Linked DNA regions of Homo sapiens: all the other regions are linked to region 3. The links are contacts of gene promoters, found by promoter capture Hi-C in human tissues and cell types (Jung and others, 2019). All regions are on one chromosome and are shown on one strand. The core of a region is centred on a gene start or on the middle of the fragment in contact, and the rest is flanking DNA. Distances in the headings are between cores, read along the strand shown. Region 1 overlaps MRTFA (myocardin related transcription factor A). Region 2 has its middle 11 kb from the start of TNRC6B-DT. Region 3 holds the start of DNAL4 (dynein axonemal light chain 4).

Region 1 (2,700 bases), core at 70-2,569, 1.7 Mb after region 3:
AGTCCTAGCATTTCTCCATTCTAAAACACACCAGAGTCAGTACCATGCCCCAATATTCCCTAAGACTTAGCTTCTGAAATTCCATAATGTCCATCTTATTTGTTTTGTTGTTTTTGTTTTTGTTTTGAGGCAGGGTCTCGCTCTGTCGCCCAGGCTGGAGTGCAGTGGCACAATCTCAGCTCACTGCAGCCTCTGCCTCCCAGGTTCAAGCAATTCTCCTGCCTCAGCCCCCCAAGTAGCTGGGACTACAGACATGCACCACCACACCTGGCTAATTTCTGTATTTTTAGTAGAGATGGGGTTTCACCATGTTGGCCAGGCTTGTCTTGAACTCCTGACCTCAAATGATCCACCTGCCTCGGCTTCCTAAAGTGCTGGGATTACAGGCGTGCGCCACCGCGCCCGGCCCCATAATGTCCATCTTAGATCATTAATTATCTAAACAAAATGATTCAGATATGTTTCCATAGTAGTGAGAAAAGCTCTAACTGTGGTTTGATTAGAACACTTAGATTCAGCAATAAACATCACAGGCAGACATGACATACTGCACATTCTGAGATGCAGAAGAATTCCAACTTTGAAAGCTATTTTTCAACAACATCTGCTTTGGACAAGGATTGGCTAAAATACAGGATGGTGGGTAGAAGATTCATTTCTTAATATAAGAACAGATCTCAAAATACTTCGATAAAATCTTGATTTAAAAGCTTATACTTATCAGGGAAAGTATGACAATCCAAATTTCATCACTCTCATTCATTCAAAAATACTAAGTACCATGTGCCAGTATCAGAAGCCAATATATAGATTAATATATTGCCCTTGAGAAGCTAATAATCTAATTAGGAAGACATATACATCTGGCTGGTTCCAAAGGACCAGTAAGAGACCACCAGCAGTGAGGAGGATGAAAGTTTTATTTTTTGAGACAGAATCTTGCTCTGTCGCCCCAGTTGGAGTAGAATGGCATGATCATAGCTTGTTGCAGCCTCGACCTCCTGGGCTCAATCGATCCTCCCACCTCAGCTTCCCAAGTAGCTCTGACTACAGGTGGGCACCATCATACCTGGCTTTTTTTTTTTTTTTTTTTTTTTAATTTTTTGTAGAGATGGGTCTTGAACTCTTGGGCTTAAGCGATCCTCCTGCCTCAGCCTCCTGAAGTGTTGGGATTACAGGTGTGAGCCACCATGCCAGGCCTGAAAGTTTGTATATAACATACATGAACATGTCTCACCAAAACCCCCAAGCTCCAAATATTCAAATGAAAATTGTTCATAAATATAAAACATACCCTGGAACTTTGCTATCATATTCAATATCCTGAAGTTTTATTTAGGGTAAAACTTTCCATCCTGAATTCTGTCAACAAGGTTTAGTTACTTTAAAACTCTCATTAAATAGCAGTCTCACCTATAAAGCATATATTCATATAGGTTAAAATATTCTATTGCTAGAAAACCTATGGCTCATGTTTATCTACTGATAAAGCCCAAAAGTCTTGACTTTTCAGAGAATGGCTTTTAGTTCACTGAGGCTTCATAACAGATGCTTTTTCATTTCCTATCATAAAGAGAGACAGTATTTTACTATACAGCTGTCATATTACTGTTACAATCCAGCTAATGGCTACAGCACTTCAGAACAAAACAGTAGCAATTTTACAAAACCAACACATTGTTAATGTTTTTGATCATATAGGAGACAGGTACTGGAGATATCAGTTTGCTATTACCCTTTCTATATCCAGAGTCTCTCCACTTTTACGAACATAAACAAAAGAAAGAAGTCCACATACACGCTACAGCAGACCCTTCATTCTACCTGCATCCAACACTCTTGTCAATTTCATTTCACCTACTATCATCCTTTGAAAGTTTTATGAAGTAGCTGGTCCAACAGATGGGTGGCTAGCCCTGCCCAACACATGACGAAGGAAAAACAGCTCTTAGCAAGCAAGACAAGAAAATATTAAGTATGTCCCTTTCCCTCTCAAGGCTGAGAACACTGAGACTACCTGAGAAGAAAGCAAACAATCTTTTAACCTTTATAAAGAAAAGTTACTGGACTGAGATGATCTGTAAGTAACAAGGTGATTTTAAAAAGGGAGAGAGTTCAAATGCTAAAATCTACCCCTCAAGATAAAACAGGCACTTGCCCACACATAGCAGAGAACTGGAATAGACAGGAAAAATAAATAAATCCAAATTAGTTTAACTGGGAGCTTTTTCATCAAAGACAGATGGGAAACATTCAGATAAGCACACTATCTTGTTTAGAACACAAAGCTCAATAGATCTGTAGGAGGAAAAGGAAAGGCAACCTGAAACACATAGCCTATATGCATAAAAAATGACTCATTATGGTCATATTAGTAAAACCAGAAAGAACAAAATGGTAGTGGTATCTGTCTTCTTTGCCCCTTCCCTGATCATAAGCTTTATTAACCAGATAGCATCTGATCCTGTCTTCAACTGATGTATATCTGTCTTTCAACATACTACCTAAAATGCTCCCCAAGGAAAACAGTGAGACCAATTCTGCCAGAGACAGTATCTGCCAGAACCAAGAAGTCTTATTTTCCTTTGAGTGAAAGCCAGTGGATGGGGAAGAGGTCCCCAAATGCCACTTGTCTGAATCTTTTAAGATATGCTCTGAAACAAGAAAACACTACAGATTACATTTTAGTAGAGATCTAAA
Region 2 (2,700 bases), core at 150-2,649, 1.3 Mb after region 3:
TTTAATTTGTATATTATATTTCCCCTTCTGGAAAATAGCTACATGAATAAAAATACTCTGTTTTATTCACATTTGTGTCACCAACATCTAGCACTGTGAGTTGCACATAGTAGGTCCTCAATAAATATTTTTTCAAATGAAGTTAAGAAAGAGAATTTAAAATAGAATTTCTAAAAAACCTCATTTTAGGCAAAGCTTGGTGGCTCATGCATGTAATGCCAGCACTTTGGGAGGCCAAGGCAGGCAGGTCACTTGAGTCCAGGAGTTCGAGACCAGCCTGGGTGACATGGTGAAACCCATCTCTACAAAAAAAAAAAAAATTAGCTGGTTGTAGTAGTGCGCGCCAGTAGTCCCAGCTACTCGGGAGGCTGATACAGGAAGGTTGCTTGAGCCCGGGAGGCAGAGGTTGCAGTGAGCTGAGATTGCACCATTAAGCTCCAGCCTGGGTGACAGAACAAGACTCCGTCTCCAAAAAAAGAAAAGAAATTATGCTTGGGCTTGACATGATGACGCTCTCACTAAACATTTGAATGCATAGACATGCTGAATGCTGTGCTAGGAGCCAGGACTACAGAGGTGGGGCGAAAGGAGATCTTTGTTCCCAAGGAATGCACAGCCAGGTGGGTGAGACAGATGTGGACACAGATGAGTGCCATTTAGTGTAATAAGTGCTGTAATAGACAGTACAAGAGGTGCTGCGGGGATGAAAAGGAAGGTCATCAACACGATGGGGAGGTTGAGAAAGCCTTCCCAGGGAAGGTGACACTCACACTAAGTTGTGGAGGAAAAGGGCATTTCCGGCAGAGAGAACAGCCTGTGTAGAGGCATGGGGGAGCGTTTTTAGTATGTGGAGAAGATGACCGGCACAGCGGTATGCTTTACAAGGCTGGCATTAGGGTACAGGGCTAATAGCTGACTTACAGTTGAACCATGATATGTCAGACTCAGCCTCTTACTCCACTGCAGTTTAGGACAGGAAATGACCTTAGAATAATGATCTGAATCTGTATGTTTGAATTCATAAAGGCATAGAGTACCATTCAGAGAAGATAATCATAAACCACAACGGCACTTGTCACTTCTAGTTAATATACTTGCTTCAGTGGTGTACCTATAACCATGCAAATGATGTTAGGTGGAATTAGAAAGTGGTGACTCATTTAAGCTTATCTGTAGGAGCAGAGAGTGTAAAGGAAGTGACTTCTAGATCACCTGAGGTGAGTGCTGATACCATCTCAAATGGATCAGACACTGAACCAGTGAAAGAGAGGAAATCAGAAAAGAGGACTACCCAGAAGGGCCTCTGGTATATGTTCTGGGAAAGACAGTTCCTACAGCTTGAAGGTCTTTACATATCTCCAAGTCTCCAAGTGGTTCACTGAGCTAACATTAATCTAATTTAATTCTCAACCAGATTTGAAAAAGGGAGATTAATTGGATAAAAATGTAGCCCATTTTCCTTCATTTACTCCTATTTGTTTTCAATGTCTCTTTCCTTTTCTGTCTCCTCCTATCCATTTTTCTCTCCCTGTTACTCTTAAGTAGTGTCTCCTTTCCCCATCCACCCCATCTCTAGCCATCTTCCATTCTATTTCCGCTAAGTTGCTTTCAGTTGCAGGATGTCCATACCTTGTTGGCTAAACTAATGTTTCTCAGCTTTGCATATTCAGAGCTTGATATTTTTCAAATGGGAAGAAGTGATTATGCTCTGGTAGTGCTGATTACACTCACAAGATGTTAATTGACTTACGGTAATGCCGATTTCTGCAAGTTCTGTGTATGTATTTGATCTACATAACAAAGGGCTAAGGAGCTAAGTGATGATAGGGAGAATGGTAGTAATGAATGCAGTTTAGTTTAAGATGTTTGGAAGAGAAAGGACAGAGAAAAATGGAAGCAGGACGAGGTTGAGAAGGCAACACCTTTAAGTAAGATAGAAAATCAGGCTGGGTGCAGTGGCTCATGCCTGTAATCCCAGCACTTTGGGAAGCCAGAGTAAGAGGATCACTTGAGGCCAGGAGTTCGAGACCAGCTTGAGCAACATAGTGAGACCCCCATCTCTACAAAAAATGTTTTAAACATCAACTGAGCATGATGGCACATGCCTGTAGTCCTAGCTACTCAAAAGGCTGAGGCAGGAGGATTGCATGAGCCCAGGAGTTGGAGGCTGCGGTGAGCTAGGATTGCATCACTACACTCCAGCCTGAGAGACAGAGTGACACCCTGTCTCAAAAAAAAAAAAAAAAAGAAAGAAAAATCTATAATCTATTAAAAGATATACAGGAAGCACCCAGCGGAGAAAGAAAAATGGAAGTTGCTTGAATAGAGATGGTAGCAGATTTGATGGGGCAAGGCCACCAGATTCCTCCCATGGGCACAGGTAGACTATATTCATTGGAAGTTCCTTGTAGTATCTCAACAGAGTAAGAAGTCGTCATGGGTTCTCATCTTGGATACCTTGAGCTCAAAATGAGTTTATGCTACTTTGTTTTGTCATGGCACCCACTAGAATGGTTTGCACATAGTAGGTGTAAACAGTCGAGATAAAGTCACAGGATTGAAAGATGATACTGATTATACCTTTAAACTTCTTACCAGGTAACACTATCTGTGGTTTATGACAAGGGAACATGTTTATTAATCCTCTTGTGAATAGTACAGTTACATTGAATTTTTTTCCTAAAGGTGTTGATTTATTAA
Region 3 (2,700 bases), core at 150-2,649:
GTCATCTCCTATGATAACAAAGCCTTTTGCTTGAATACCTCCTGAAGGACCTATCTAAGACTGTTTACGGTTAAATTTTATTTTCTTATAAGTAGGAGGAGTGTACACTGTAAAATAACAATAAAAGTGTAGGATAGTAAACACATAAACAAGTAACAGTCATTTATTACCATTATCAAGTATGATGTCCTGTACACAATTGTATGTGCTATATTTTATATGACTGGCAGCACTGTAGGTTTGCTTACACCAGCATCACCACACACGTGAGTCATGCATTTTGCTTTGACATTACGATAGCTATGTAACTAGGTGATAGAAATTTGTCAGCTCCATTATAACCTTAGGGCACCACCGTGGTATCTGTGGTCTTTCTTGACCAAAACGTTGTTATATGGTACATGACTGTATTTCAATCTCCATCTGTCCCCTCCCCACCCCTAAGTAACCCTAACCATGGAAGCCCAGGAGGAAGATCAGAGAGGGTCAACTGGAGAAATGACAGTTCATGCTGACCGGGTTGATAACATTTCCCAGAGAGGGAAAATGTGGTGAAGAGACAAAGGAAAGAAACTAACAAATACTGAATCTATACTGGACTGGACTCTGTACTTCATATTAGCCTCAGAATTACCAAAGGAGATGCACCGACGTATACTGATTTTACATATGCACTGATTAAAAGCGCAGGGAGGGTAGGTCTTGAGACTGGGAATCCAAATTAGGTTTGCCAAGTTATTTTCACAATACACGATACCTCCCATTGGGGAGCACATCCTCTCGGAAGCCTAAAGTTGGGTCAAAGAACAACGACATCCTAGAACGTCAGAGTGGAAGAGGCCTTAGAGATCACTCAACTCAACTTCTCATTTACAGATGGGGAAACTGAGGCCCAAACAGGGGAAATGACCAGCCCAGAATCCCAGTAAGTCGCCAACTCTCCAAGCCAAGAGCGGTCTGACCTAGTTGATGGCGACCCCGCGGGAGAGGGAATTACTCCGCGAAAGGTCGAGGGATCAAGGTGCTGGGGGAAGTCGGCTAAAGGGGGACGCGGGACCACGAAGCTGGGCAGGCCTTGGGTGGGTGGGGAAGAGCAGCCGGCAGAGTCGCGATGGCAAACCTGTCACGACAGAGCTCGCAGGTCCCGAAGTGGGGGTGAGGGTGGGGGTTGAGGATGGGAAGACCTGGGGCAGGGGAACAGCAGGCAGGAGACCGAGGTGGGGCCTCGGCGGCGGGCGAGGCCTCTTCCGCCCTGCGTTGCCTCCCGCCCTCCCTCCGGGCCGGCCCTCCCCGCCTGGCTGCCCGCCGCGCCCCGGGGCCTCACCTGCTCCTGCGGGGGCCGGAGCCGGGGCCGCAGCCAGCGAACCCCCGCCAGGGTTGTCAAGGAGCGAAACAAGAGTGTCTTAGCAACCAGCAAGGAAGTCCTGCCCCCTCACCGGACGTTGACGAGAATTTCACTTATTATTGGTGGATAAAAGTATCAATCAGAGTGAAAGGCCCTTATAAGTCAGGCGTTTGCAAGGACAGGGGCGTGGTTTAGAGGCCAGGGAGGCGGGACTTCACTTATAGTTGTCTTAAGCGTGCCCGAGGAGCAGGGGACACATTGAAGTTCTTTTTCTAGGGAAACAAACTTCGAAAAGCAGTACTGCCTTGGGAGGTTCTTTTAGTCACTTGAAATAACAAATGCAACTTGTTGGTGTCGTGACACTTAGCCACTACTTTATTGGGATCTGAAAAGCCTGATAATAACTAGCATTTTTGTAGGGCTGTACAATTAATATCTCACTTGATTCTCATTACAGTACTTTTAGGTGATAATATTCGTCATCCCATCTGAACTAAAGTTCAGAGAGGTTAAGTAACTTGGTAAAGGATGGAGGTAATCTCCCTGGAGAAGGAACCCAGGGGCTCCTTCCTCTGTGCCACACCCTTGTATGGTCACCTAGCTCTAGTCACTAGGAGACATTTGTACCACCTAATTTCAGACACAGTTGCCCAGAGCCTGCCTTTTCTTCCCCTTGGGAGGGAAAATTAATCCGAAAGTACGGAGAAGGAAAAGGGGAAAGGGGAAGAACTGGCGGATTCTATTATTTGATTGGTAGATCAAAGGGTCAGTTGGGTACTTCGTAGTTTAAACCTTTATTATTGTGATGAGTACTTGGGGTGAAACCCCACTGCCACATTTACTAGCATTGAAGCTGTCTTTGCCAAAATTATAACTGAGGAAATTATGACAGTGAAAGAGATCAGACCTAACCCACTCCATCTTGCCTTTCTAGCCTTTAAGCTGTCTTTGTTCATTCCTAGGCATAGGCTGAACGAACCTTGGGAAGGAATTTAGTTTATAGTTTTACTCTGAAACAAAATTGACAATAGCCCTTTCCCAAAAAGGCTCCCTTCCTGCCTTGGGACCAGTCTGCCTTTGTAGGACTAACAAATTAGCTACAACATTAGAAATTATGGTTTAGGGGTCACACAGCAGCCTCTGGCTGCAAGAGTCTGAACCTTCCCAAATTGCTCCTGGGGATAACATCACTATTGTAAAACCTAAGATCAGCGCTTGAGATATTTTGCAGACCCTGCGCTCGATGGATCAGCTGACACCACCCAGACCAGTAATGTGGCTCAAACAGTTCTGTGATCCCACCCAGGAACAGAAGACAGCAAGAAAACCTCACTTCGACCCCCTCAGTATTCCAT

What was found. The method cuts DNA at HindIII sites, captures the fragments that hold promoters and counts their contacts. A contact is called where the count stands out against the background at its distance.
Region 1: a contact is called between a fragment that was not itself captured here and the fragment with the promoter of DNAL4 in region 3, in 1 of the 25 tissues and cell types used here (aorta).
Region 2: a contact is called between a fragment that was not itself captured here and the fragment with the promoter of DNAL4 in region 3, in 1 of the 25 tissues and cell types used here (spleen).

Annotation. Positions count from the first base shown.
Region 1 is chr22:40,530,189-40,532,888 of GRCh38, forward strand. The region is part of intron 3 of MRTFA (myocardin related transcription factor A); the gene reads right to left. Among named protein-coding and RNA genes, the nearest start is that of MRTFA-AS1, 9.7 kb to the left of the region's middle. The HindIII fragment of the contact is 3,323 bases long and covers 1-2,700 here.
Region 2 is chr22:40,054,568-40,057,267 of GRCh38, forward strand. It overlaps a transcript of TNRC6B not described here. Among named protein-coding and RNA genes, the nearest start is that of TNRC6B-DT, 11 kb to the left of the region's middle. The HindIII fragment of the contact is 4,520 bases long and covers 1-2,700 here.
Region 3 is chr22:38,792,744-38,795,443 of GRCh38, forward strand. It overlaps DNAL4 (dynein axonemal light chain 4), which reads right to left and starts at 1,400. Exons shown (of 4, transcript NM_005740.3): 1 at 1,325-1,400. RefSeq lists a silencer at 1,142-1,591. The HindIII fragment of the contact is 13,707 bases long and covers 1-2,700 here.